4 separate regions of the Homo sapiens genome follow, and regions 1, 3 and 4 are each linked to region 2. The links are contacts of gene promoters, found by promoter capture Hi-C in human tissues and cell types (Jung and others, 2019). All regions are on one chromosome and are shown on one strand. Each heading gives the region's core, a stretch centred on a gene start or on the middle of the fragment in contact. The rest is flanking DNA. Distances are from core to core; before and after follow the strand shown.

What was found. The method cuts DNA at HindIII sites, captures the fragments that hold promoters and counts their contacts. A contact is called where the count stands out against the background at its distance.
Region 1: a fragment that was not itself captured here is called in contact with the fragment with the promoter of WDR6 in region 2 in 1 of the 25 tissues and cell types used here (dorsolateral prefrontal cortex).
Region 3: a contact is called between the fragment with the promoter of USP4 here and the fragment with the promoter of WDR6 in region 2, in 1 of the 25 tissues and cell types used here (dorsolateral prefrontal cortex).
Region 4: the fragment with the promoter of UQCRC1 here is called in contact with the fragment with the promoter of WDR6 in region 2 in 1 of the 25 tissues and cell types used here (dorsolateral prefrontal cortex).

What each region holds. Positions count from the first base shown.
Region 1 is chr3:48,651,097-48,657,141 of GRCh38, forward strand. It overlaps CELSR3 (cadherin EGF LAG seven-pass G-type receptor 3), which reads right to left. Exons shown (of 35, transcript NM_001407.3): 2 at 5,602-6,045; 3 at 5,044-5,269; 4 at 4,640-4,755; 5 at 4,210-4,298; 6 at 3,948-4,105; 7 at 3,193-3,356; 8 at 2,782-2,907; 9 at 2,523-2,692; 10 at 1,906-2,091; 11 at 1,341-1,457; 12 at 781-952; 13 at 481-622; 14 at 263-383. Among named protein-coding and RNA genes, the nearest start is that of CELSR3, 8.8 kb to the right of the region's middle. RefSeq lists enhancers at 5,118-5,815, 5,816-6,045 and a silencer at 5,203-5,432. The HindIII fragment of the contact is 6,463 bases long and covers 1-5,254 here.
Region 2 is chr3:49,002,002-49,008,720 of GRCh38, forward strand. It overlaps WDR6 (WD repeat domain 6), which reads left to right and starts at 5,390. Exons shown (of 6, transcript NM_018031.6): 1 at 5,390-5,530. The coding sequence starts at 5,431. P4HTM (prolyl 4-hydroxylase, transmembrane) reads left to right here. Exons shown (of 9, transcript NM_177939.3): 4 at 499-595; 5 at 2,097-2,259; 6 at 2,860-3,045; 7 at 3,776-3,866; 8 at 4,063-4,186; 9 at 4,686-5,152. The coding sequence ends at 4,906. RefSeq lists an enhancer at 4,168-5,156 and silencers at 5,295-5,344, 5,885-6,064. The HindIII fragment of the contact is 10,419 bases long and covers 3,664-6,719 here.
Region 3 is chr3:49,335,964-49,342,493 of GRCh38, forward strand. USP4 (ubiquitin specific peptidase 4) reads right to left here and starts at 4,090. Exons shown (of 22, transcript NM_003363.4): 1 at 3,961-4,090. The coding sequence starts at 4,061. RefSeq lists a silencer at 4,031-4,220 and enhancers at 4,261-4,760, 4,391-4,560, 4,651-4,710. The HindIII fragment of the contact is 25,899 bases long and covers 1-6,530 here.
Region 4 is chr3:48,605,900-48,612,831 of GRCh38, forward strand. It overlaps UQCRC1 (ubiquinol-cytochrome c reductase core protein 1), which reads right to left and starts at 3,747. Exons shown (of 13, transcript NM_003365.3): 1 at 3,653-3,747; 2 at 3,263-3,403. The coding sequence starts at 3,721. RefSeq lists a silencer at 3,368-3,467 and enhancers at 3,638-3,737, 3,817-4,331, 4,028-4,137. The HindIII fragment of the contact is 22,312 bases long and covers 1-6,932 here.

The sequences.
Region 1 (6,045 bases), core at 773-3,272, 350 kb before region 2:
GCCTGAAGTCAGAGGTCAGGGCTTGGGGAATGAGTGGAATCAAGGATAAAGGGTCAAGAGAACAGTGCTCATGGGCCAGAGGACACCTGGGTCATGCGTGAAGCCAAGGGAGGGGTCACGGGTAAAGGATGAGAGACAGCAACTTGGTCACAGGACACAGGCAAGAGGTTAGGGCCCAAGTCAGGTGGCGGAGGTCAGCAAGCTGGACAGGAATTGCAGATTGCGTCCAAGGAAGGGTTAAAAGGTCAGGGGCCAGGCGCACCTTGCAGTGACACTGCCCATTTGTCTTGTTGCAGTTGGGATCAAAACCTTTGTGAACATCACAGTTGCAGGGGCCACAGGTTGGGCTCCCCCACCAGCCCCGTGGGCACTGCTGGTCCATCCTGGGGGTGCAGAGCCAGGTAAGATGCCTCCACGGTATCCCAGTGACCCTCCCTGTCCCTGCCAGGTCTCCCCATCGCCTCAGCCCCAGCCTCTTACCTGTGCTCACAGTGGTGCCCGAAATAGCCACCCACACAGTCACAGGTATAGCCATGGGGGGCTCCTGGCAGGTGCCGGCATGATCCCTGGTTCTGACAGGGGTTCAGGAGGCAGGCATCCACACAGCCTGGGCCGTAGTAACCTGCAGATTGGGTCAGAAAGCTCAGGATCCTGGTCGCAGAGCATGGAAGGAAGCAGGCACCCGTCCCGAGTCCCTGCCTCCTTCAGGTTCCCCAGTCTTCATCATGGGCCCCTAACGCCTGCCCAGGTCACCCTTCCCCCAACCCTCTCAAGGCTCACCTGGCTGGCAGGTGCAAGAAAAGGTCTGCCAGAGGTCCCGGCAGTCTGCGTGAGGTGGGCAGGGCCCAGAGGCACAGGCGTTGGTCACAACACAGCCAGGCTCCGCATTCACTCGGTGGCTGGGGGGTAGCAGGGCCGGGGAGCCAGAGGGTGTGGAGCCGAGCCACACCCCCTGTGGACACACAGCCAGCAAGGGGTGAGACCATGTTAAGGCACCTCAGCCTCAAGTACTGCAGAGCCAGCCACCCGGTCTGATGATCCTTGACATGCAGTCTTCTGATACCCTCAAAAAACCCAGGCCTCAAAAATATCCCCAATTTGGTACCCCTGTGGGACCCTAATTGTGCTGTTTCTGACACAGATTCCTAAAGGCCCTTGATAATCCAAGCTAGACTCCCACCTCCAATGCCACAGAAAGGCTTGACCTAGCTCTCAACTCTGGGTCATTCACCCCCTCGCACCAACCCCCACTTGAATACTGCCTTTCAGGTCCCAAGGAGCCCCTGACTTCTGACCCCTGACCCTAATGCCCCATATCACATTCCCATGCTGACCCCCACCTGGATGCAGCCAACCAGACCCTGAGGAGCCTCCTCTGCACTGCCGGGGGGCAGGCCTCCCACGTGGAGCTGCTTTACCTTCAGGCCCTGCAGCTCACTCCCCACCGCCATGGTGTCCTGGAGGAAGTGGGGCAGTCAGCACTGAGGGAGAGGGGCCTGATGAACCCCTGTCATAGCCCAGAGTCAGTCTTGGCCTTCTTCTAGCCCTTCTAGGCTGCCCCCTCCCTCCTGGACCCACAGTAGACCTTAATATTGCTTGATTTTGACCGGGGGTGGGTAGAGACTGGGGCAGAGACTAGAAGGGGCTTCTAGGAATCAGGCAAAGTGCTGGCTACAGAGGTTCCCCAAGACCAGGCCCCAAATCTGGCACAAAGAGGGCTTGAGAGTGGACCAACTTGGCTGGTGGGTGGGCTCAGTGCAAGGATATATGGTGGGGAACTAGGGGTAGAACATCAGACTCAGTGCAGTGGAGGGAACTGAGAGGAGCTGGACTAGAGGTGGGGTCAAATAAGGCGGATCTGGTTGGAAGGCTGAGAACAGACTACCCCGGGGTCAGAGGCCAGACCTGGAAGAGGCTAAAGTCCAGTGAGACCATAAGGACATGGTGGCCCCGCCGGCCACCTGGTTCCTCCTGCAACTCCAGCCGCAGATCGTGCCACCGGCCATCACTGACAGTCACCTGGTCCAGAAGGAGATGGGAAGCACGGCCCGAGCCCCTGGTCACTGTCACAGACAGTAACCCCCGATCTAGCTGTGGGCAGAGATGCATAGCCCTGGGGTTAGAGCCCCATGTGGGCTGGGACTTGGAGGTGAGATCAGAGGGCTCAGAGGTCAGGAATATCAGAGGTCAGAACAGTGGGGTCAAGGTTATACCTGGCACAAAGGGCACTGTGCCAGGGGACATCATGTTGCTGATATGGGGTCAGGGGGCAGAGGATAGGACCAGGTGTTGTGGGTGGGTTGGTGCAGCTTGCATAAGAGAGAGCTATGCTGGAGCCCTGCACCTGCAGAGGATATAATGATGGAAAGAGAATCAAGGGCTAGGGTCCAGAGCAGGGTCAAGTGTGGTTGGGACACCTGGCAGAAAAGTATGCTGTGTGACCAACCTGAACCCACAAGAATGTCAGTGGCGGCCTAAGAGACTGAGAACTGAGGGTATAGGGGTGAGCAGGGTGGACACACCTGGCAAAGGAGCGTGCTGTGTGGCCCAGCCTGCACTTGCATCAGGACCCCCTGCGTTGCCCGTGTCCGAAATGCCAGCCCCAGGTACCATGGCACAGACACAGCCATGTCACTTCCAAAGTTCCAGCTCAGTGTGCCGTTGCCACGGAAATGGTGGGGATGGGCCATAGCTGAGTGGATAAGAGAAACAGGGTTACAGCCCCTGCCCCAGGAACAGATCTGACCCTGCAGGCCCCTCTGCCCCATGCTGCCCACTTACTAAGCTGACAGTCTTTGCCGCCGAAGCCCACAGGGCAGTCGCAGCTGAAGCTGCCCCAGCGCTCCGAGCAGAAGCCACTGTTCTTGCAGGGGCCTGAGTCACAAAAGTGTAGCTTGGCTTGGCAGCCTGGGAGAGGAAAGCACATGGCGGACATGAGAACAAGGGTTGGGGGGCACAAGTGCTGGACAGGACTTTAGTGTCCAGAGGGGCTGAAAGAGACCAAGATCTCAGCCCCATTTCCCATTTTCTTTCGATGAGTGGGGTTGGTAAGAGTCAGGCCCTAAAATCTGGGCTGTAGCATGGTGCTTGCCACCAAAGGAGACTGGCTTGAAGTCAGGTATGGAGTCCTCCACTTCCTCCCTATGATGGGGACAGGGCCATGGGCTAGGCTGGTGGAAGCTTCAGGCCTACCTGCCATGGTGCCATTATTTGCGACAAAAGCCGCCATGTCCACTCGGCGGCCATCAATGTGCAGGTCCCGCATACAGCCGATGAAGTCCTTATGGGATACGGGGAAGTTCTCGGGGAGGTTGGGGACACCTCCCAGAAGAAGAGGGCCCGTCAGGTCCAGGGACCTGGGGATCAGGGGTCTGGGTCATTGGTGGGACTGGGGCCAGAGTAGAGTTGCTCCTGGGGGGCCACAGGAAGCAGGGGGGTAGGACCCAGAGGGTAGGGTGATTGAGGGAGGAAAATAAGGCCGAGCTGTGGAAGGAGTTAGGATCTTACTTCAGTTGGGGTGCAAAGGGGCACCCGTGATGGGCCGATGGTCTGGGGAAAGGTAGGTGAATGGGGGTTGAGAGCTATGATGAAAGAATGAGGCATCTGGCTGGCTGGGGAGGGGATGGAGACGTGAAGACTCTGGGGGACTGGACATGAGATGAAGGGACTCGGAGGGGATGTGGGACATTAGTGAGACTGGGGTGGGGAGGTGGAGGCTTTGGAGGACTGCCTGGGGACTGTGTGTGGGAGGAGGGAGTATGGGGTGGAATACAGGATTGGGGGCTAGGGTGAGTAGGCTTTCAGGGTCTTTGAGAGGAGAGGGGAATCTTGGTGGTTTGGGGGAAAGATGGGAGAGTTTGGCAGGATGGGATGAGGAATGGGATGTGAAGGGTTGGAGTGGGCTTTGGTAGGCAGGGGACAAGGGGACTAGGGGGCAGGGGCCTCACTTCTTGGAGCTTGTTTGCACACCAGCAGCCGCGCATGAGTAGTTGCCAATCTCAGCACCAAACTGCAGAGCCACGGCCACATCACAATCATCCACGCTTAGCACAGCCACCTTGTCCTTGGAGGGGCCCTGTGCACCCCCTAGGGCATCTGTCCGGGGCTGAAGACGCAGGCACACCAGTCAACAGTGCCCCCAGTAACCCCTGAGGAGCAGAAGTCAGCATCCCAACTCCCCTCATACCCGATGCCAGGGATGGCCCCCACCTTGTTGTAGTATCTCAGATGCACTGTATGCCATTGCCCGTCACTCAAGCCCCCTGGAACTGTGGGGCTGACCACGGTGTTGGATTCACCTGGAGGGGAGATGCATGTGGAATCATCAGGAGCAGCGGAGTCGCCCCATCCCACCCGTCATATAAGCACAACCATTCCCAGGGCCACCCTGGATGCATCAGATCAGTCCCCCCACTGGTGACCACAATGGCTGGCTCAGAGTGCCTTTGAACAGACAGGAGAAACAGACTTCTTGGAGGGAGGGACCTTCCCACAGGGAATGGCCAAGGAGCTAGGTCTTCAGGGCTTGCATGGCGTGGAGTGTGTGCTCAGGTGCACAGTGAAGCAAACCTGAGGGGACTTGGGCCCTGCGTCCTCCAGCACACACGCACCCTTTCGCCGTCACATCCGGGGCACCCACCCGTGGAATATGTGAGCCGCACTTGGCCAGCCACGAGTTCCAGGGCCAGGAAGTCGTGCTTCTCGTTCAGGCGCCCGTTGTAGAAGAGCAGCCCGCTCTGCTGCACTGTCGCGAACCTGGGCGGGGTGGGAGGGGGTTGCGGGGGTGGGAGCGTCAGGAGCAGGGTACCACTTCACACCCACCATCCCTGCGAGGAGAAGGGGCTGGGGCGAGAGAGGAAGCGACGAGGGACGGCGGGACCGACCGGGGGGACGCGGGTGCAGCGAGGTCAGGAGACCCCGGGCGGGGCGTCAGGGGAGGGGCGGTGTCTCATGGGGATGCCAGGACGGGGCAGTCAGGAATCTGAGTCAGGGCGGGTAGGTGGGGGCGGCGGGGAGGCGCTCAGACACGGGGCGGGCACCTACGAGAGGGACAGCGTAAGGTGGAATCGCTGCCGCAGGCCGCGAAACATGACGAACGAACTGGGCGGGAAGGAGCGCGCAGCCACCTCGCAGCGCGGGCCCTCGAAGGCGCCGCCTGCCGGGCACTGGCAGCGAAAGCCGCCGTTGGGCGCGTCGGTGCAGGTGCCCCCGTTGCGGCAGACGCCCGGCACGCAGCGGCCGGCCTCGGTGTCCAGCTCGCAGTCCTCTCCTGGGGGCCAAGCCGCGGTCAGAGGCGGTCACGCCCACGCCCGCCCCTGCTCCGGCCCCTTCAAAGACCGCGCGCCCAGAGGCCGGGTGCCAAGACCCCCGAAAGGTCGCCCTCTTCGGTGGACACGCCCCTTCCGTCTGGCCCCGCCCCCTCCCCAGTCTCATCGCTGCCTCGGCGGCGGCCCCTTCCGGCCACGCTCTACGGCTTCTGGCCTAAGCGCGTCCATACCAGGCCGTGGCCTCAGAAGTGACTCCCAGTACTCACTCGCATTGTGGTCCCGCCCCCAGCCTTGGCCCGTGCTTCCCCCAGCTCTGGCCCGGCGCCCTGCTCACCGGTGAAGCGCGGGCGGCAGACGCACGTGTAGCCTCCCTCGCGCCGCGCGCAGGCTCCGCCGTTGCGACATGGGTTGGAGTAGCAGAGGTCGAGCTCGGTCTCGCAAAAGTCTCCCGTGAATCCGGGCGGGCAGCGGCAGCGCAGGCCAGCGATGGGCTGGATGGGTCGGAACAGCGTGGAGGCCGAGGCCAGGAAGGGCGCGGACGAGTCAAAGCGGAGCACGGACACGCATTTCATGTAGTTCTCACAGGGCTCTCGCAGGCACACGTTGTCGTCGAAGGGCAGTACGTCGAGCAGGGAGCGAGCCGCCAGCGCCGCCCGGCGCACGTACAACTGCTCCTGCAGCTCCTCGGAGCTGAACCAGGGCCCTGCAGCGCCCGCCCCGGCCCCACGTGGAGCTAGCGCCGAGAAACTCACATTGAGCACGGTGCCCCCTACGTCTG
Region 2 (6,719 bases), core at 4,140-6,639:
CTACAGCCAGGCTGGAGGGCCAAGCTTCTGAGAGAAGTCTGGCAGGGTGGTGGTGCGGGGCACTGCCCACACAGAACACCCCACTGAGCCTGGTCTTTCTGAGGGATCTGGTGGTCATGCCCTAACCAGGTCTCCCCCTGGTGCCTGTTCTCCCTTAACACCCAGGACTTGGCTTTCCCCATCTCACCCGGAGTATCTGAGTGGGACACAGGCCTGTCCTTCACTCTGCTTCCAACCAACAGTGCTCTCCATGAAGGCCACGGGGCCTTAGTCCGGGAATGCAAATGGCCTACGCCTCTTGACCCCCAGCCCCCGGCCTTCTCCTCAGATGCTCTGTACCTTTCTACCTGCACTCACTTTGGCCCAATGGGCTCTGCCCTGTGTCCTCATCCATGCCCTCACCTGAACACTTTGCTCCACAACAAGCACTGGGCCATCTGTTCTCTGCTGGCTCTCCATCACTGGGGTCACCCACTGAGGGACCCTCTTATGCTTTAGGTTCTGGCCCAGACTCGCCTGGGAAATGGATGGTGGATGACTCCAGAGAGCATTCAGGAGATGTACGCCGCGATCAAGGCTGACCCTGATGGTGACGGTGAGCTCACACCTCTGCACAGTCCTATCCCCGTGAGCCTCCTGCCCACTCCCAGGTGCACAATTTTGAAAACTTGGGCCCTTCCCCCACAGCCAGGCAGCCTCTCTGCACCCCTTTATAGTGGCCAGAGATGGGGAGGTGAAGATCCAGCCTTGCTTTTTACCCCTGGGAAGTAGGCAGGCAGCCAGGCCCCCCGTTCCCCTTGGTGATGGTCTCGAGGGCAGTTCTTGGAGACCCTTTTGATAACATCAGGCAGAGTTGAGAGCCTGGGGACAGGAAGTAGGGCTGCTAGTTGGCAGAGAACAGAGTGGGTGGAGCAGGAGCAAGGCGACAGTGAGGCCAGCTAGAGCTTGGCTGTTTACCCTGCTCCATCCATCTCTCCAGCCAGACACGAGGTCCACCCCAGCAGACAGCTTCCCTGGTCTAAGTGAGATCTCCCTTGCCTTCCTCTTGTCCACCTGGAGTCATGCCGAAGCGCCTAAAATGGTAGTGCTGCTACCTGTGCTAACTGCTGGGGAGGGGTGGGCAGGGAAGCTGTCATGCAAGTGGTGCCCCCTCTGGTAATAACTCTCAGGAGGTTTCTGAGGTGTGGTCATCACCCTCATGCCCAAATTCTGGACCAAGAGAGGAAGATACAGCAGTTAGAAAGGACTTGGAACAGTGGCTTTGCGGCTGGTGAACCAGAGTGAAGAATCTGGCCGTGACCTGTGGCTGGATGGCTGCCACACTGCTATAGGCCCCAGAACAGAGGTGGTGACAGTCTCACAGCCCTTGAATGTCCCCCACCCTCAGAGGAATCTGGGCCAAAGAGTGGAAGGTGATGTCCTTGGGTCAGCCAGAATAACATGGAGCAAAGATACCAACTACTCTTCCAGAACCCCAAGAGGGTAGAACCCCTGCTTAATGGTTTGAGCAGGGACAGTGGAGAATGTTCTCATGAGAGGGGGTGGCCTGACTTTCGTTGCTAAGGTGGGCTGGTAACGCAGTAGGCAGGGCTGGCGAAGTAGGTTCCACCCAGGATGAAACCTGGGGTCATGAGGAACTCCCCGGGGGCTGGCCCTGCTTGCACCCTGGCGTATGTATGTAAGGCCCTGGATGAGGCCCAGCACTGCCTGCTCTCTCCTCACCCTCCACAGGCCGGAGAGTGGCCACCACTCTATATAGCCAGGCTGGAAGGCCAGGGTCCTGGCCATATGGCTCAAGCTTCCTTTGGAGAACCTTCTCTGGCCACTCTAATAGGGGGTGGGCCTCTTTCTTCTTAGGGCCAAATTAGGGCTTAAACTGAGAAAAGGAACTGCTCTGGGTCTTCCTGTAAGGCCTGATGTGACAGAAACCAGGTTCATCTGACCCAAAAGTCCAGGTGGGGGACAAGTGTACAAGGCCCCTCAGTGCCTGAGGTCAGGGGCTGCTGCTGCCTTTGGGGTAGGTAGGGAAGTGCAGCCTGCCACTGTTGCCTCCCAATATGGGCTTGGTGGGCATTGATGGTGGGTGCCCTGTGCAGGAGTGCTGAGTCTGCAGGAGTTCTCCAACATGGACCTTCGGGACTTCCACAAGTACATGAGGAGCCACAAGGCAGAGTCCAGTGAGCTGGTGCGGAACAGCCACCATACCTGGCTCTACCAGGGTGAGGGTGCCCACCACATCATGCGTGCCATCCGCCAGAGGTGAGCACCTGAAGCTGTTCTCACTGGAGCAGGGGGAGAAGACTGGGCAGGGCCTCCACAGAAGTCCTTGTCTGGGGCCAAGAGGACAGAATGGATTAACCCATTTGGGATTAAGTTCCATTTGTTAGACCAGGATTGGGACCCACTGAAAGACAGGCAATTAACAAAGGCAAATTAGCCCTCCTTGCAGGCACACAATGGGCAACTGGGGTTAGATAGAGATTGAGCACTTCTTTCTGATTAGATAAATGACCTCTTATCTTTGACCCCTTATCTGACCCCGTCACAGCAGGAAAAGGGTTTTTAAATAAACAACTTTCTTCCAGGGAGGAGGACCTCAGGACTCCCCGCCCCCTTTATTTAGTGGAAATGTCAACATTTCCACATAGCAGGTGTCTCTGTCTTTGGCATCTGAGGGAGAAGGATCATCATGAGTAACCCCCTCCTGCTCTTACAGGGCCAGTCTGAGATGGCTTAAGGGACTTCCAGGGGAGGTGGGTAGGGGCAAAGCTTGTGGCAGGCCTAGGGTCCACCTTGGCCAGCTCCTTCAGATCACCACCTTGCCTGGGGCTGCCCAGCCAAATGCCTGCTGCCCACCAGGGTGCTGCGCCTCACTCGCCTGTCGCCTGAGATCGTGGAGCTCAGCGAGCCGCTGCAGGTTGTTCGATATGGTGAGGGGGGCCACTACCATGCCCACGTGGACAGTGGGCCTGTGTACCCAGAGACCATCTGCTCCCATACCAAGCTGGTAGCCAACGAGTCTGTACCCTTCGAGACCTCCTGCCGGCAAGTATCTCCCAACTGGGGGCTGCCTTCAATCCTCAGACCAGGAACACCCATGACACAGGCACAGCCCTGCACTGTGGGCGTGCCCCTTGGCATGGGGCCAGGAGATCACTGGGTTATCCCGGTTAGTGATGCCCTCACCTCTCCCCACAAGTTGTTTACCCAATGGCTGGAAAGGGGTGGCTACTGGTCATCGTGACCACTGGAGTCAACACAGACTGATGTACCCACAGACACCAAAACTTGCCCCCTGAGTTCTGAAGCAAGGGGCAAGGCTGGGCCCCTAGCTTGTCCTGCCCATTCCTCCAGGTGTTGATCTTGATTCCACTTAGAGAAGCTGAAGCTGTGCCTCCCTCCCCTGTCAAGCCAGTTCTTTCCTCTTCAGGTGGCTGTTCTGGCCCAGCCCCTTCCCATCCCCAAGGAGCCCTTCAGCGCGCCCTGTTGCTTCTGCTAGCCTACCTTTCCCTGCCAGGCCCTTGCTCAGGGCCATGGCATTTAACTAAGTGCACCTGTGATCTTGGCCAAAAAACCATTGCAACTCACAGTAAGAGACTGGGTTTCGGGGAAGGAGGGGCTAGGGACATTTTGGCACTGGCCTGCCCTATTGTCTCCCATCCTAGTCTGTCCTGGTCCCTGGCAACAGGAACCTGGGCAGCTTATCCTGCCCACAGGTAAGCCCCTGGGAGCATCCACAACTGGGGACCTGCTCAGTGCCCCCCCTGCCTTACAGCTACATGACAGTGCTGTTTTATTTGAACAACGTCACTGGTGGGGGCGAGACTGTTTTCCCTGTAGCAGATAACAGAACCTACGATGAAATGGTAAGGGTCAACTGGGCTATTACTCTTGTGGGCTGGCAGGGGCTTAGACAAGTGAAGTACACACCTCTCCAGGTCTAAGGATGTGGGCCCAAATTATTCCTTGGGCATATCTGGTTGGTTTCCCTTTGGTCACCCTTGGCTGGCCTGGCCATAGAGTGGGGACAGGTTGAACACCCCACCACCCTGCTGCCCACAGAGTCTGATTCAGGATGACGTGGACCTCCGTGACACACGGAGGCACTGTGACAAGGGAAACCTGCGTGTCAAGCCCCAACAGGGCACAGCAGTCTTCTGGTACAACTACCTGCCTGATGGGCAAGGTGAGGGCCTATGGCCAGGCCTGGGGGGGGTGCCCTGAGTACAGCTTCCCTTTACCCAGCCCCCGTCTGCCACAATGGAGGGCTGTTTCTGGCTGCTTTCCAAATAGTTTTCTGCTCCTGGTGCCTCCCAAAGGCCATCCTTAGTGACTTTAGCAGACTGCCCCAGGACCTGTACTGCTTATTGGGTTATATCCATCCCTATCATTCCCTGATGCCCCAGCCTTCCTACTCCCTGGGGCTTGGGACACATGTCCCTTGCTAACCCAGGATGGGAAGGGATATGGACAGGCCCAACAGCAAGAAAGCTGGTTTCAGAGGGCCAGTAGTGTTGACTATACATTAGTGGGCTGAGATGAGGAGCCTCCAAGGAAGCTTTAGGTCTGGGTGTTTGCTACACAAGGAATGCATAGCTGGACCCACCTTGGTCATGCTCTTGGTGCCTATGAGGCCAAGCTCTGGCCAGCCCAGCCTAGGATCTCACGTCACCCTCCTCTTCTAGGTTGGGTGGGTGACGTAGACGACTACTCGCTGCACGGGGGCTGCCTGGTCACGCGCGGCACCAAGTGGATTGCCAACAACTGGATTAATGTGGACCCCAGCCGAGCGCGGCAAGCGCTGTTCCAACAGGAGATGGCCCGCCTTGCCCGAGAAGGGGGCACCGACTCACAGCCCGAGTGGGCTCTGGACCGGGCCTACCGCGATGCGCGCGTGGAACTCTGAGGGAAGAGTTAGCCCCGGTTCCCAGCCGCGGGTCGCCAGTTGCCCAAGATCAGGGGTCCGGCTGTCCTTCTGTCCTGCTGCAGACTAAAGGTCTGGCCAATGTCTTGCCCCACCCCGCCAGCCGCGATACGGCGCAGTTCCTATATTCATGTTATTTATTGTGTACTGACTCCATCTGCCCCGTCAAATAAAAAACCACAAGGTTCGAGCCGCCGGGCCCGACAAACTCCGGGTCGGCGAAACAGAGTCCGCGATAGGTGCAGCGGGCTGGCAGCTGGGAGCGCCCCGCAAGCGTCACGTGAGGGGGCGAGGGGCGGGATGCCCCTCCGCGGGCCCCGCCAATGATGAGCTGGATTGCGTGGGACGAAGGGTCGTCATTGGACAACCGCCGCGGGCGCCCTGGTCTCTGCTACCTGTAGCTGAGGGCGCTGTTGATGGGCAGCGCGGCGCGCTGGGAAGGCTCGTTCTCGCGAGAGTTCAGCTCCCTTCTTAGCCGTGGCTGCCTCAGCACCTCGAGGATCGACATGGACGCTCTCGAGGACTACGTTTGGCCGCGGGCAACCTCGGAGCTTATACTCCTCCCAGTGACGGGTCTGGAGTGCGTGGGGGACCGGCTGTTGGCGGGTGAGGCTTGGCTTGAGGCACGCCTGGTGGAAAGGGGGAAAGAAACAGCGCCTCCCAGGGGCGGTGCCACAGGGACAAAAGGGGTGCCCTGAGGAGAAGGACGGGCAGCAGGTTGAGGCCGATCGGAGGTGGGAAGGGAGCCCCGGAGATGGCGGGGACGAGGGCCAACCTGAAGAGGGCGGGGCCCGAGAGACAAAGCTGATGTGGCCGCCGCGGCGCTTCATAAACTTCAGCCCGCGTGGAAAGGGCGGGTGGAACCGCGGGAGGGTGCAGGGGAACGCGGCCGCGCGGAGGCGGAGGCGGAGGCCCGGGAGCTGAGGGTTGAGGGGGTGTGCTCCCTTCTAGGAGATGGGCGGGGGCTTGGCCTCTCCGAAGGAGACGGGGCCGAGCTGGGGGGGGCGGAGGGAGGAGGAGGAGGAGGAGGCGGAGGCGGCCCCGGCCCCTCAGGGGGTGTGGCCTCTTGGGGAAGGCGGGGCCGGGAGAGGGCAAGGGTGTGGCCTCTCGAGGGCGGGATGAGTCTCTTCCCCCTAAGGTGGGGGTGAAGATCCTCTGAGGAGGGTGGCGTCGCGGAAAACGGCGGATAAGACCTTTCCGAGTAGGGGGCGGTGCCCGGGGAAGCAGGGGCTGAGACCCCCTCCTGAGATGGTTGAGGTCCAGGAAATCAGGTGTGGAGGTCCCTCCAAGGAGAACCGGGTCGCAAAGGACAGGCGAGGCCTGGGACCTGAGGTGTCAGAGTCCAGGCTGGTCTCGAACAGTCATTACATGAAGCCACTAATGACCCATGTTGGTGCTGCTGAGTTGTATAAGGGTCCTGAGGCAGGGCCTTGGCGGTCAGGCCTTGAGTGAGTTGCCACCAGTCCTAAGAGGGTGTGTGTATGGGGTGGGGATGATCCAGTTTTGATCTGGTGTGGGGGTTCTTGGAGCGCGGAGTTCCTACCGCGAGCTAAACTCCTAAGGCTCCTTGAGGGGGAACAACGAAGCAGAAACTCAAAGAACCACAAGAGTGAACTAGGAAAAGGGGTGAGTTCCTGGCAAGAGGGTAAGCATGCCAAAGGCCTTGAGGCTGGAAGAATCTGTCATTTTGGGGGAAGGAGGGAATTCTTGTGAAGTTAGAGCAGGAATGGAGTCTGGGAGGAAAGGAAGCTGGACAAGCGAGCAGAGGCCACATTGTTTCAGGCCTTGATCTGAC
Region 3 (6,530 bases), core at 2,840-5,339, 330 kb after region 2:
AGCGATTCTCCTGCCTCAGCCTCCTGACTAACTGGGATTACAGGCACCTGTCACCACTCCCAGCTAATTTTTGTATTTTTAGTAGAGACGGGGTTTCACCATGTTGGGCAGGCTGGTCTCAAACTCCTGACCTCAGGTGATCCGCCTACTTCGGCCTCCCAAAGTGCTGGGATTACAGGCATGAGCCACTGCACCTGGCCTCTTTTTTTTTTTTTTTTTTTTTTGAGACGGAGTTTTCGCTCTTGTTGCCCAAGCTGGAGTGCAGTGGTATGATCTTGGCTCACTACAACCTCCACCTCCTGGGTTCAAGCAATTCTCCTGCCTCAGCCTCCCAAGTAGCTGGGATTACAGGCATGCATCACCAGGCCCAGCTAATTTTTTTGTATTTTTAGTAGAGATGGAGTTTCACCATGTTGGCCAGGCTGGTCTCGAACTCCTGATCTCAGGTGATCCTCCTGCCTTGGCCTCCCAAAGTGCTGTGATTACATGCATGAGCTACCACACTCAGTCTAAATGGAGTCTTTTCATGGGTAAAATCATGTTTGCTAATAAACAAGTCATTAACTTCTTTTTTTTTTGAGACAGAGTTTCGCTCTTGTTACCCAGGCTGGAGTGCAATGGTGTGATCTCGGCTCTCCGCAACCTCCGCCTCCCGGGTTCAAGTGATTCTCCTGCCTCAGTCTCCCGTAGCTGGGATTACAGGTGTGTGCCACCACACCTGGCTAATTTTGTATTTTTAGTAGAGACAGGGTTTCTCCATGTTGGTCAGGACAGTCTCAAACTCCCTACCTCAGGTAATCTGCCCACCTCGGCCTCCCAAAGTGCTGTGATTACAGGCGTGAGCCACCGCACCCGGCCACAAGTCATTAATTTCATAATGATCTTTACAGAAGTCCCACTCCAGGCAGACAGTTTGGTTACACTGTTTTGCTTGACATGAACAGCACTAAACTAATGCTCTTTCTGAAAATGGGTTAGAAACACCACCCACTTCAGTTTTCCTTTAAGGACCAAAGGAGTTCCAAAAATGTACACACAAGGCCAGGCGCAGTGGCTCACACCTGTAATCCCAGCACTTTGAGAGGCCGAGGTGGATGGTCACTTGAGCTCAGGAGTTCAAGACCAGCCTGGGCAACAAACCCCATCTCTACTAAAATTACAAAAATTAGCTGAGCGTGGTGGCACATGCCTGTAGTCCCAGCTGCTCGGGAGGCTGAGGCACAAGAATCACTTGCACCCGGAAGACAGAAGTTGCAGTGAGCTGAGATCATGCCATTGCACTCTAGCCTGGGTGACAGGAATAAAACCCTGTCAAAAAAAAAAAAGTACATAACATGCGTGTACATATATAAATATACACATACACATGTACATATAATAGTGCCTATTGTTCATCTTGTCAAAAAGCATTAATTTGTGCTTCATATTCAACTTACCACTTTTTTACTTAAATGTAAGCAAATGTGGTATTTTATTTACCTATTTATTTCCTTAGAGAGAGGGTCACCCAGGCTAGAGTGCAGTGGCACAATCATAGCTCTCTGTAGCCTCAAACTCCTGGGCTCAAGTGATCCTCCTGCCTCAGCCTCTGAGTAGCTGTGACTATAGGCACATACCACCATGCCTGGCTAATTTATTTTTTTATTTTTATTTTGTAGAGGCTAGCTCTTGCTATGTTGCCCAGGCTGGTCTTGAACTCCTGGCCTCAAGTGATCCTCCTGCCTCAGCTTCCCAAAGTGCTGGGATTACAGGCATGAGCCACTGCACCAGACCTGTTTATATTTTTAAAGTATCACTGTGCTGGCCGGGAGCGGTGGCTCACGCCTGTAATCCCAGCACTTTGGGAGGCTGAGTCAGGTGGATCACGAGGTCAGGAGATCGAGACCATCCTGGCCAACATGGTGAAACCCTGTCTCTACTAAAAATACAAACATTAGCGGGGCATGGTGGTGCATGCCTATAATCCCAGCTACTCGGGAGGCTGAAGCAGGAGAATCGCTTGAACCCGGGAGGCAGAGATTGCAGTGAGCCGAGATCGCGCCACTGCACTCCAGCCTGGTGATGCAGCGAGACTTCGTCTCAAAAAAAAAAAAAAAAAAAAAAAAAAAAAGTATCTCTATGCTGTTTTACAATTAAAACAATCTCTGTGGAGCAACAAAGCATCAACAATTATATTGGTGCATCCTTAAAATTTTATAACCAACAAATGTGAGAGGAGGTCAGGCAGCTTCCCAGAGGTCACAAGGATCCATAAACACATCCATCTCTAAAATGCTATTTTTCTTCCAAATCCCTTGAGCAATACCTTCCATACAATTTTACTGTATGATTTTAGTCTATCTTAAACTTCCTCTACTTCTGCTGAGTATTCTTTATGAACCCTATAGAGGTTAACTTAAAAAGTACCTCTGCTAGGCCGGGCGCAGTAGCTTCCGCCTGTAATCCCAGCACTTTGGGAGGCCACAGCGGGCGATCACCTGAGATCTGGAATTCGAGACCAGCCTGACCAAAATGGAGAAACCCCGTCTCTACTAAAAATACAAAAAAAATTAGCCGGCCGTGGTGGCGCATGCCTGTAATCCTAGCTACTGGGGAGGCTGAGGCAGGAGAATCGCTTGAACATGGGAGGGGGAGGTTGCCGTGACCCGAGATCGCGCCATTGCCCTCCAGCATGGGCAACAAGAGCGAAATTCCTTCTCAAAAAAAAAAAAAAAAAGAAAAGAAAAGAAAAGAAAACACAAAAAAAGTACCTCTGTTTACCCTGCCTTTCACAAACTGGTTAGCTCAAGGTGAATACATAAGCTGTTATCTGTACTCCTCCTAACCCCAATTTTTCTATTCTCCTGCTCAATTCCTCGGCAGATCATCACCACAATGATTTCTTAAAGATAGGTAACACTCGGGCCGAGCACGGTGGCTCCCACCTGTAATCCCAGCACTTTGGGAGGCCGAGGCGGGTGGATCATAAGGTCAAGAGTTTGAGACCAGCCTACCCAACATGGTGAAACCCGGTCTCTACTAAAAATACAAAAAATTAGCTGGGTGTGGTGGCGTGAGCCTGTAATCCCAGCTACTCGGGAGGCTGAGGCAGGAGAATCGCTTGAACCCGGGAGGCGGAGGTTGCCGTGAGCCAAGATCACGCCACTGCACTCCAGCTTGGGCAACAAGAGTGAAACTCCATCTCAAAACAAAACAAAACAAACAAGATGGGTAACAATCATACTCGATGCAAAGTCTAGCCTTAGTTTTTCTACTCCTACACAATTACACCACCCAGGAATCTCTCCAGTAGTACAAAGTATTGTCCCCTCTACTAAACAATCTATTAAGATGCCTAATAACTCAGCCTGGGTCTTCTAAATTCTGGACCCTTCATCTTCTATCTAGCTCCAGGACCTAGGCTATCCTCCTCTCCCACTCCAAGACACTGCTGCCGCAAATATTTTTGACACTTGCTACCAAAATAATCGGGGTTCTCAGACATTTGTTCAGCTTCTGACCTTGACATCTGTTGGCAGTTTACAAGTTACAAAGTATCTACTTCTGATTTTCCCCTCAACCCACTGAGGTCGGTGAGCCAAATATTGCTATCCTGGTTTTAACAGTGAGGAATCCAGGTCTGTGACACCTTCGCCCAAGGTCACACGGCGAGTCCTCATGGTAAAGGGCTCTCCCCACCCTTAGGGTCCCCACCAACCTTCCCCTTCTCCACATCCCTCCTCCTGGCCCCCGCCGGGCCCGCCCCCTAGGGCTCCAAATGAACTGAGACGACACTCAGGCCCCGCCTGCGCTTTCCCAGAGCTGATCCTGGAGTTATTCTCCTGAGGGGCAGGTGTCAGGCTACTCTTCCAGGGTCACTACATACCATCCCCGCCCAGCCCCTACTCTAGCCGAGAAAAAGGAGGCCCCTTTTTCTCGGCCCCTGGTTCTGCATAGAGGAAGAGCGAGCCGGGAGCTCACCACTGCGCCCCGCGTTGGAGTGTGGTCCTCATTAAGGGTCCAAGCTCGGACTTCTGAGTCTCCGCATCCGGTCGCTCACGGCAGCCTCCACCTTCCGCCATCTCCTCCGCGGCCCCGGCCCAGCCGGCCCGGACATCCGCCCCGCGCGCGGCGTGCTATAGACCGCGCCCACGCACGCACGCTCGCGTGCCCGCCCCTGCCCCACCTCGAGCCGCGGCCTTCGGCTCCTGCAGCCGCTGTCTTTTCTCCCCTCCGCTCTCGCGCCACCTAGCTCACCGGCGAACAGTGGAGCGGAAAGGCACACGCGAGAGGGGTGGGCGGGGAGCAGCAGCTGCTACTTCCTCCCGCCCTGCCGCCCGCTACGCGGCCTTCGGGCGCCCCTTCCTCTGCTCAGGATGGCGCTACACTTCGAAGCTCTGTTCAGCCCGCCGATCTCAGGGAGTTAGGCAGCAAGCCCACGACCCATCGGGCACCCCAGCCTGGCCTTCGAGGTTATCGTGGTCCTAAATAAATGCAGGCCAGGTGCGAGAAGCCCGGTAGTTAGGTCTGCTCATTCTCACCCCTGCAATTCCGCTTTCAGCTGGAGGCCTTAGGCGAGTCAGCTGCCCAAACGTGGGATCGGGGCTCCTGCTCCAGCGGCCCTACAGGGATTTCGGGAAGTACCATGTGCACCAGCGCCTTGGGACCAAGACTCAATGGTGTGTTGTAGTCATTAACAGTCGCCTTAAACAGTCGACGCCAGAGCCACCTGGCCCACCGCAGAATTCCGTCAGCTCTTCATACTGAGCTACTTGCCAAGCAGCCACAGAGGGGCGATAGCAACAGGGGAAGGAGAGGTACTCCACATTAGTTACCCAGGCGTGTACTTAGTTCCTGGAACAAGATACAACGTCCTGAACACTATGTTTTCCAGTCGCCCCGCTCACACACACAACCCTCCTCTTGGAGGGAGAAGTAAACCCAGAGGAAAGAGGAAGTCAGGCAGTTGGTCTAGATGCGTCTCCATACACTTGTCTAACAGTCCTTGTCCTCAGAGAAAAATAAGACCTAGTTCCTGCCCTCATAGAATCTAGTAGAAAAGAAGAGATGTTACAGAAATAACCTCAATGCCTAGCAGTATGTGGTAAGTGCCATTAAAGTGTGTGAACCAGGCCGGGCGCGGTGGTTCAAGCCTGTCGTCCCAGCACTTTGGGAGGCTGAGGCGGAAGGATAGGTTCAGCCCAGGAGTTAGAGACCAACCTCGGCAACATAGCGAAATCCCGTCTCTACAAAAAAATACAAAAAATAGCCGGGCAGTGGCTCGCGTCTGTGGTCCCAGGTACTTGGGAGGCTGAGGTAGGAAGATCCCTTGAGCCCAGGAGGTCGAGGTTGCAGTGAGTCGAGATGGCGCCACTGCACTTGAGACTGGACGGCAAAGTGAGACCCTGTCTCAAAAAAAAAAAAATAAATACAAATAAAGGGTGTGAACCGGCCGGGCGCGGTGGCTCACACCTGTAATCCCAGCACTTTGGGAGGCCGAGGCAGGAGGATCACCTGAGGTCGGGCATTCGAGACCAGCCTGACCAACGTGGAGACCGAAATGTCTTAAAAAAAAAAAAAAAAAAAGACCGGGCGTCCGGCGCGGTGGTTCATGTTTGTAATCCTAGGACTTTGGGAGGCCGAGGCGGGCAGATCACGAGGTTAGGAGTTCGAGACCAGCGTGGCTAATATGGTGAAACCCCTTCTCTACTAAAAATACAAAAAAAAAAAAAAAAATTAGCCGTTAGTGGTGGCCCACACCTAGTCTCAGCTACTCGGGAGGCTAAGGCAGAAGAATCGCTTGAACCTGGGAGGCAGAGGTTGCAGTGAGCCGAGATTGCGCCACTGCACTCCAGCCTGGGCAACAGAGCAAGACCCCCTCTAAAAAAAAAAGGGGGTGTGAACCAAAGGCTGTAGAACGCCAGGCACAACCCCTGCTCTCATAGGAAGCCTTTGACTTGAGTAACATTTGAGTGTGGTATTGAAAAAAAATGCTGGCAGAATAAAGATGAGGATGCATGTTACAGGAGGGGAGACTCAAGGGACCAGAAGATAATTTCTGGAAAAGGCAGGACAGGATCAGAGAGTGGGGATTAGGCCAGTTGAGGCGGGCACTACAACGCTACAACAGCCTAAGGGGATCTAAAGCTAGAAAGGAGGCCAGACAGACCATATATCCTGCCTTAAAAGGCAGGCAGGCATTATAGGAAGTTTTGAAGCAGAGACAAAATGGCTGAGGGTGCTTCACGCCCACGGTGGTGTAACTCAGACACAGAACCATTAGGAACCTCTCACTATGGAGGTGGCTGTGAGGGAGAAGAGGAGAAACAGAGAAGCCATGTCTATTTTATTTTATTATTCTTATTTTTCTACCTATTCCTGTTGAAAAGATGAGCTATGTTTTGTGTCGGGGGTGAAGGAAGGGGAACTGGCCCAGTGAAAATACGGTAGGTCATTTGAACAGATTTACTATTTTTATGTTGGGTTTGGCCAATTGAAATTAATTTGCACTCCCTGGGTCATCCATCACACACCATCTGATAAGAAAGGCC
Region 4 (6,932 bases), core at 2,497-4,996, 400 kb before region 2:
CCAGCCCCCTACTCACACCCCACCTGAGTGACTCAGTACAAGCCCCAGGCAGGGACTTATGAATCCTGGAGTCAGGGAGAGCTGCCCCAGCAGGACCCCTGTGCTTGGGGACACAGTCATGCTTGGAAAACAGGGGCAGCCGAATGACTCGTCACACCACATCATTGCTCTCCTGATTGGCTATCAAGGACCCACAGGGACACTTCTAACTGTGCACATTTACCTGGTCTCACCAGCATACAAATCCTTAAATTCACTCTCAATTTTCAGTTAATTATTTGTTTTTGTCTAAGCATACAACATATCATTTGCAAATAACAACTTATTTTTTCCTTTCTAAAAATTACACGCTGCCTTTGTTCTGGCAATGATTTTATCCTTTCATCATTAAGGAAGGGACTATTGGTTTAGACTGTATATTTTATCACACTAAATATTGTTCCTATAATATCTTTTTTGTTGTTGTTTTTAATCAGCTCTGAACACCAAACAGTGTTGCCTTGGCACCCAATAAGGTAATATTAATTTTCTTGACAGCCTCCTGGTTGCTGTGAAACACGCACCACAGGCTGGGCGCGGTGGCTTATACCTGTAATCCCAGCACTTTGGGAGGCCAAGGCAGGTGGATTACGAGGTCAGCAGTTCGAGACCAGCCTGGCCAATATAGTGAAACCCTGTCTCTACTAAAAATACAAAAATTAGCCAGGTGTGGTGGCACGTGCCTGTAGTCCTAGCTACTTGGGAGGCTGAGGCAGAATTGCTTGAACCCAAGAGGCAGAGGATGTAGTGAGCCAAGATCGTGCCACTGCACTCCAGCCTGGGTGACAGAGAGACTCCATCTCAAAAAAAAAAAAAAAATGTAAAAGAAACACGTACCACTCACCCCACTTGGTCACACGGTCTAGTCTTTTAATTTACTATTTGTTCACAGCTGATTTAAGTTTTTCACATCTACTTTCCTAAGTACTTTTTTTTTTTTTTGACATGGAGTCTCACTCTGTCACGAGACGAGTGCAGTGGTGTGATGTCGGCTCACTCAACCTCTGCTTCCTGGGTTCAAGTGATTCTCCCGCCTCAGCCTCCCGAGTAGCTGGAACTACAGGCGTGCACCACCACGCCCAGCTAATTTTTGTTTTTTTGTGTGTGTGTGTTTTTTTTTTGAGACGGAGTCTCGCTCTGTCACCCAGGCTGGAGTGCAGTGGTGCGATCTTGGCTCACTGCAAGCTCTGCCTCCCAGGTTCATGGCATTCTCCTGCCTCAGCCTCCCGAGTAGCTGGAACTACAGGCGCCCGCCACCACGCCCGGCTAATTTTTTGTATTTTTAGTAGAGACGGGGTTTCACCGTGTTAGCCAGGATGGTCTCAATCTCCTGACCTTGTGATTCGCCCGCCTCGGCCTCCCAAAGTGCTGGGATTACAGGCGTGAGCCACCGCGTCTAGCCTAATTTTTGTATTTTTAGTAGAGGCGGGGTTTCACCATGTTGGCCAGGATGGTCTCAATCTCTTGACCTCGTGATCCGCCTGCCTCGGTCTCCCAAAGTGCTGGGATTATAGGCATGAGCCACTGCGCCCAGCCAAGACTTTTTTTTATTGTATAAATTTATGGGGTACAAGCACAATTTTTAGAAATTTCTATCCACACCTGAAACTCCATTTTTTTCTTTTTTTTTTTTTTTAAGACAGAGGGCCTTGCTCTGTCACCCAGGCCAGAGTACAGTGACATAATCATGGCTCACTGCAACCTCTTATTCCTGGGCTCAATCGATCCTCCTGCTTTGGCCTCTCAAAGCCCTGGAATTACTGGTGTAAGCCACTGTGCCCCGCCCACAAGTGTGATGTCATTACAGGCACAGAATGCACAAGTAGTCAAATCAGGGATTCTGAATTATCCATCACCAGAATAACAAACCTTGTACCCATTAAGTAATTTCTTTTTTTTTTTTTGAGATGGACTCTCGCTCTCTCACCCAGGCTGGAGTGCAGTGGCTCCATCTCGGCTCACTGCAATCTCTGCCTCCCGGGTTCAAGCGATTCTCTTGCCTCAGTCTCCCCAGGAGCTGGGATTACAGGCGTGTGCCATGCATGGCTAATTTTTGTATTTTTAGTAGAGATGGGGCTTCACTATGTTTGCCAGGCTGGTCTTGAACTCCTGGCCTCAGCTGATCCGCCTGCCTTGGTCTCCCAAAGTGCTGAGATTACAGGTGTGAGCCTCCAGGCCTGGACCCATTAAGTAGTTTCTCATCATCCACCCCTTCATCCTTCCAAGTCTTCACTGTCCATCATTCCACTCTCTACATCTGTATGTACGTATTTTTTAGCTCCCACTGATAAGTGAGAACATGTGATATTTGCTTTCCTAAGAGATGTCAATGCATATACCATATATCACACAATCTTAGATGAACATGTATTTCACATCTAACATCTTGGAATGCAAGAGGCATTTTACAATCTATAGTATCCTTTGATTAAAATTGGCAAGATTCTTGAGATTCTTTCTCTGGCACTGGAGCACAGACAGCTCCTTACAATCTAGCACATTTTAGAGTTCATGTAATATAGCATTCTTTACTATAACAAGTGACATATAACAAGGAAGTTGCAGGCCACCTTTTCCTATGCTTAGTAACAATTTAAATCGCAGGACATTGTTTCTGGAAAACTAAAAGGATGTGTCAATAAAAACATCTGGCCCTGGGGCTGGGGGCTGAAAGGAGGAGGAGATAATTATTTCTTGGGAATCTTCTCACCTATTCATATATCTATCTGTGACTCAAGATTTCTTGTGTCAATTTAGAGAATTTGTATTTTTTGGAAAATCACACATTTCATTGTACTGTTAAAATGCATTTGCTTCCTAAAATGTATTTCTGGTCTAGCCTGGAGATTATGACCTTGGGCAGTGAGGCTGACAGACCTGGACCCCTGCAAGTCACCTAAGGTGTCTGAATCCCATTTTCCGCATTATAAGAGGAGACATGATCACTTCCCTTATATGGGCTCCTTAACAAAAGGCTGGAAAAGAATTTGGCCGCCTACTTAACGGGCATTATATGCTAAATAATGTTGGCTTATAGTGAAGATTGTCCCGTGAAGCCAAGGCGTGGCTAGGGTAGGGAATGGGGCCATTCTCGGGGTGAGTGGTCCTGGGTCCGAACCCAAACCACAAACGGGAAGACTCGAGCCCAAGGTCACACCCCAACCAGGGAAAAGACGGCAGGCCCAACCTGGAGGCCCTCTCCCCAAAAGCGTCCCCAACTCACCGTGCAAGTGGGCTGAGAGGACTGCTCGGAGGCCACACGCAGGCCGTTGTCCAGCAGGCTAACCTGCGTCTCCGGCACGAACTGGAGCGCCTGAGCGAAGGTTGCCGTACTCCGCAAGGCTGGCGTCCGCAGCAGGGCCGGCTGTGGAAGGGAACAGCCGCGAGTGAGGACTCGGTCAGGGGATCGCTCCCCACCTCCCAGGTCCTCAGGAGGACCCCCGAACCCCGCCCCTAGGCAAGCGGCGAGATACCTTTCCCCGCCCTCCGCCGTGACCTTCCCACGGCCCTGACCCCGCGTCCTCCCCACCTCGACCTGCCACTGCTAACAGCCCACACCTGTCCGCTTCCCGAAGCCCTGTCCCGAAGCCCCGCGCTCTCGCCACCACCTCACCGAGCGGCGGGCGCGCAATAGCACTTGTGCCCCGGCGGTAGCGGCCCGACAGACCACGGACGCCGCCATCTTCCAGCTGCAGTCGGCCCTGTTGCGCCGCGCAAGCGTAGACTGGGCGCGTTGGCGGTCGCGGCGCAGGCGCAGTACCGTACAGTTGGTGCTCGGCCGCCTCCTGGCGGGAACCGGGACAGTCTATTGTGCTGGCCTGGCTTTGGCTGACTGGCTCTGACCGCGCTGCCGCCAGTCCCTGCGCACATCAGTCCACCTGCCGTCCATCAGCCCGAGCAGGTCCGCCCGCCGTGCAGTCCATCTCCCCATTCCACGCGTGGAAGTCAGAGTGCATTATGTTTCTCACCAGCCGCGCTGCGTACTGAGGTCTGGCGGGCGGGGAGTTGCAGCCACAGCGTGTCCGCAGGTTCGAGCCCAGGGCTAAAGTACCAGCGTGGAAACTTACCTGGGACCACAAGTTGGTGCTGAAAGTCAGTATTTTTTTCTCTTTATTTATTTTTTATTTTCTGAGACAGGGTCTCGCTCTGTCGCCCAGGCTGGAGTGCAATGGCGCGATCTCGGCTCACTGCAACCTCCGCCTCCCGGCTTCAAGCGATTCTCCTGCCTCAGCCTCCCGAGTAGCTGGGATTATGCCCGGTAATTTTTGTTTCTTTAGAAGAGACAAGGTTTCTCCATGTTGGCCAGTTTTGCGCCCTGCCAGTTTTCTCTTTAAAAGAACTAAGTACAGGCCGGGAGCGGTGGCTCACTCCTGTAATCCCAACACTTTGGGAGGCCGAGGCAGGTGGATCACTTGAGGCGAGGAGTCCAAGACCAGCCTGGCCAACATGGTGAAACCTTTCCTTTTCTGTAAGAGGAAAAAGAATTCTGGCTGGGTGCAGTGGCTCATGCCTGTAATCCCAGCACTTTGGAAGGCCGAGGTGGGCGGATCACCTGAGGTCGGGAATTTGAGACCAGCCTGACCGACATGGAGAAACCCCGTCTCTACTAAAAATACAAAAGTAGACGGGCGTGGTGGCGCATGCCTGTAATCCTAGCTACTCCAGAGGCTGAGGCAGGAGAATCACTTGAACCCGGGAGGCGGAGGTTGCGGTGAGCCGAGATCGCGCCATTTCCAGCCTGGGCAACAAGAGCGAAACTCCGTCTCAAAAAAAAAAAAAAAAAAAAAAAAAGACTTCTAAGGTATGCTTTGTTATGTCAACTAAAGAAAAAAAAAAACAAGCTTTTAAATATTTAAAGTTAGTTCTATTCAGAAGTCTTACCAAGAATTGCAACCCGGGAGAGCCTTTCAGGGAGTTTCTGCTAGACTGCTCCAAAGCAGTGTTTCCGACAGTTTATACACTGGTGGTGGCGGCTCTCCATGTGCTCAGAAATTACATCAAATGTGCTCAGAAGTTACATTAGAGCATAAATCTCATCAAGGTTTGGGTGCAAGAGTACATCTGTTTATAGGTCACAGAAGCATAATCATTAATCCTGTCAGACAGTATCTTAAGTACAGGAAGAGGCAAGGGCTAGGATCATTGCATTTTTTACCATGTTGGCCAGGCTGATATCAAACTCCTGGCCTCAAGCAATCCACCCACCTCAGCCTCCCAAAGTGCTAGGATTACAGGGGTGAGCCACCACACCTTACCCAAAAACTACTCTTATACTTAAAATAAAACTATCTTTATAAAAATCATGCCAGATGCCATGACCACAGGCTCTCACACCACACCCAGCTAATTTTTTTTTATTTTTTGTGGAGACGGGGGTCTCATTATGTTGCCCAGGCTGATCTTAAACTCCTGAGCTCAAGTGATCCTCCTACCTCAGCCTCCCAAAGTGCTGGGATTACAGTCATGAGCCACCGTGCCAGGCTGACTTTATTTCTTATAAAGGGTTACAACCTGCAGGCTGGGAGGTGGGCTTCTGGTCAAAACCAGAGACAGACCCTTAAAAAGAGGCAGGAGCTTTATGTCGAATGGCTTGGCTAAACATACATATTCGGCCGGGCACGGTGGCTCACACCTGTAATCCCAAACTTTGGGAGGCCGAGGTGGGCGGATCACAAGGTCAGGAGATTGAGACCATCCTGGCTAACATGGTGAAACCCCGTCTCTACTAAAAATACAAAAAATCTGCCAGGCATGATGGCATGTGCCTATAATCCCAGCTACTCGGGAAGCTGAGGCAGAAGAATCGCTTGAACCTGGGAGGCGGAGGTTGCAGTGAGCCGAGATCGCGCCACTGCACTCCAGCCTGGGTGACAGAGCGAGACTCTGTCTCAAAAAAGAAAAAACAAAAACAAAAAATACCATATTCAACAGGTTACAGGAAGAGCTATAGATACTCATGAAGGGGGTCCTAATGCAAGTATACTGAATAAACATGTGTGTTGTATATGACCCATGTTCACTTTGGGGTGGAGACTTAACATTGAAATACATTACAGGCCGGGTGCGGTGGCTCACGCCTATAATCTCAGCACTTTGGGAAGCCGAGGTGGGTGGCTCACGAGGTCAGAAGATCAAGACCATCCTGGCCAACACAGTAAAACCCCGTCTCTACTAAAAATACAAAAATTAGCTGGGCGTGGTGGCGTATGCCTGTAGTCCCAGCTACTCAGGAGGGTGAGGAAGGAGAATCACTTGAAACCGGGAAGCGGAGGTTGCAGTGAGCCAAGATCGCACCACTGCACTCCAGCCTGGGCTACAGAGGGAGACTCCATCTCAAAAAAAAAAAAAAAAAAGAAAAGAAATACAATTAGCACCATATGTCAAAATGAAGGATACAAAAGCACTCAGTGCACAGGTTCCATAAACCAACTGAAGCCAGTCCCTGGTCAGTGGTCTCTTATTAGGAAAAAGTCACCAAAATCCATCTCTTGTGCAATCAAAGCTATAGTTATGGCTTGTGGGGTCAGTGTCTGGTGATGGATGAACTGCAATTGTTTCTATATTGCTTATCTCAAGGCCAGTGCTTGTTTAGCTGCTGGAGAAAAAGAAAAACCTTGCAGCAGTTAGAACATAGTTTATTCTTTGGTGAACGGCTTAACTCTTGCCTGGCATGGCCTTAATGTCTTGTTTATACTTTGGTATCTTATTGCTACAAAGGGTTCATTCTCTCAGTCTTATGATCTCTATTTTTTTCTTTCTTTTTTGAGACAGAGTCTCATTCTGTCACCCAGGCTGGAGTGCAGTGGCAGGATCTCTGCTCACTGCAACCTCCATCTCCCAGGTTCAAGCAATTCTCCTGCCTCGGCCTCCCGAGTAGCTGGAACTGCAGGCAC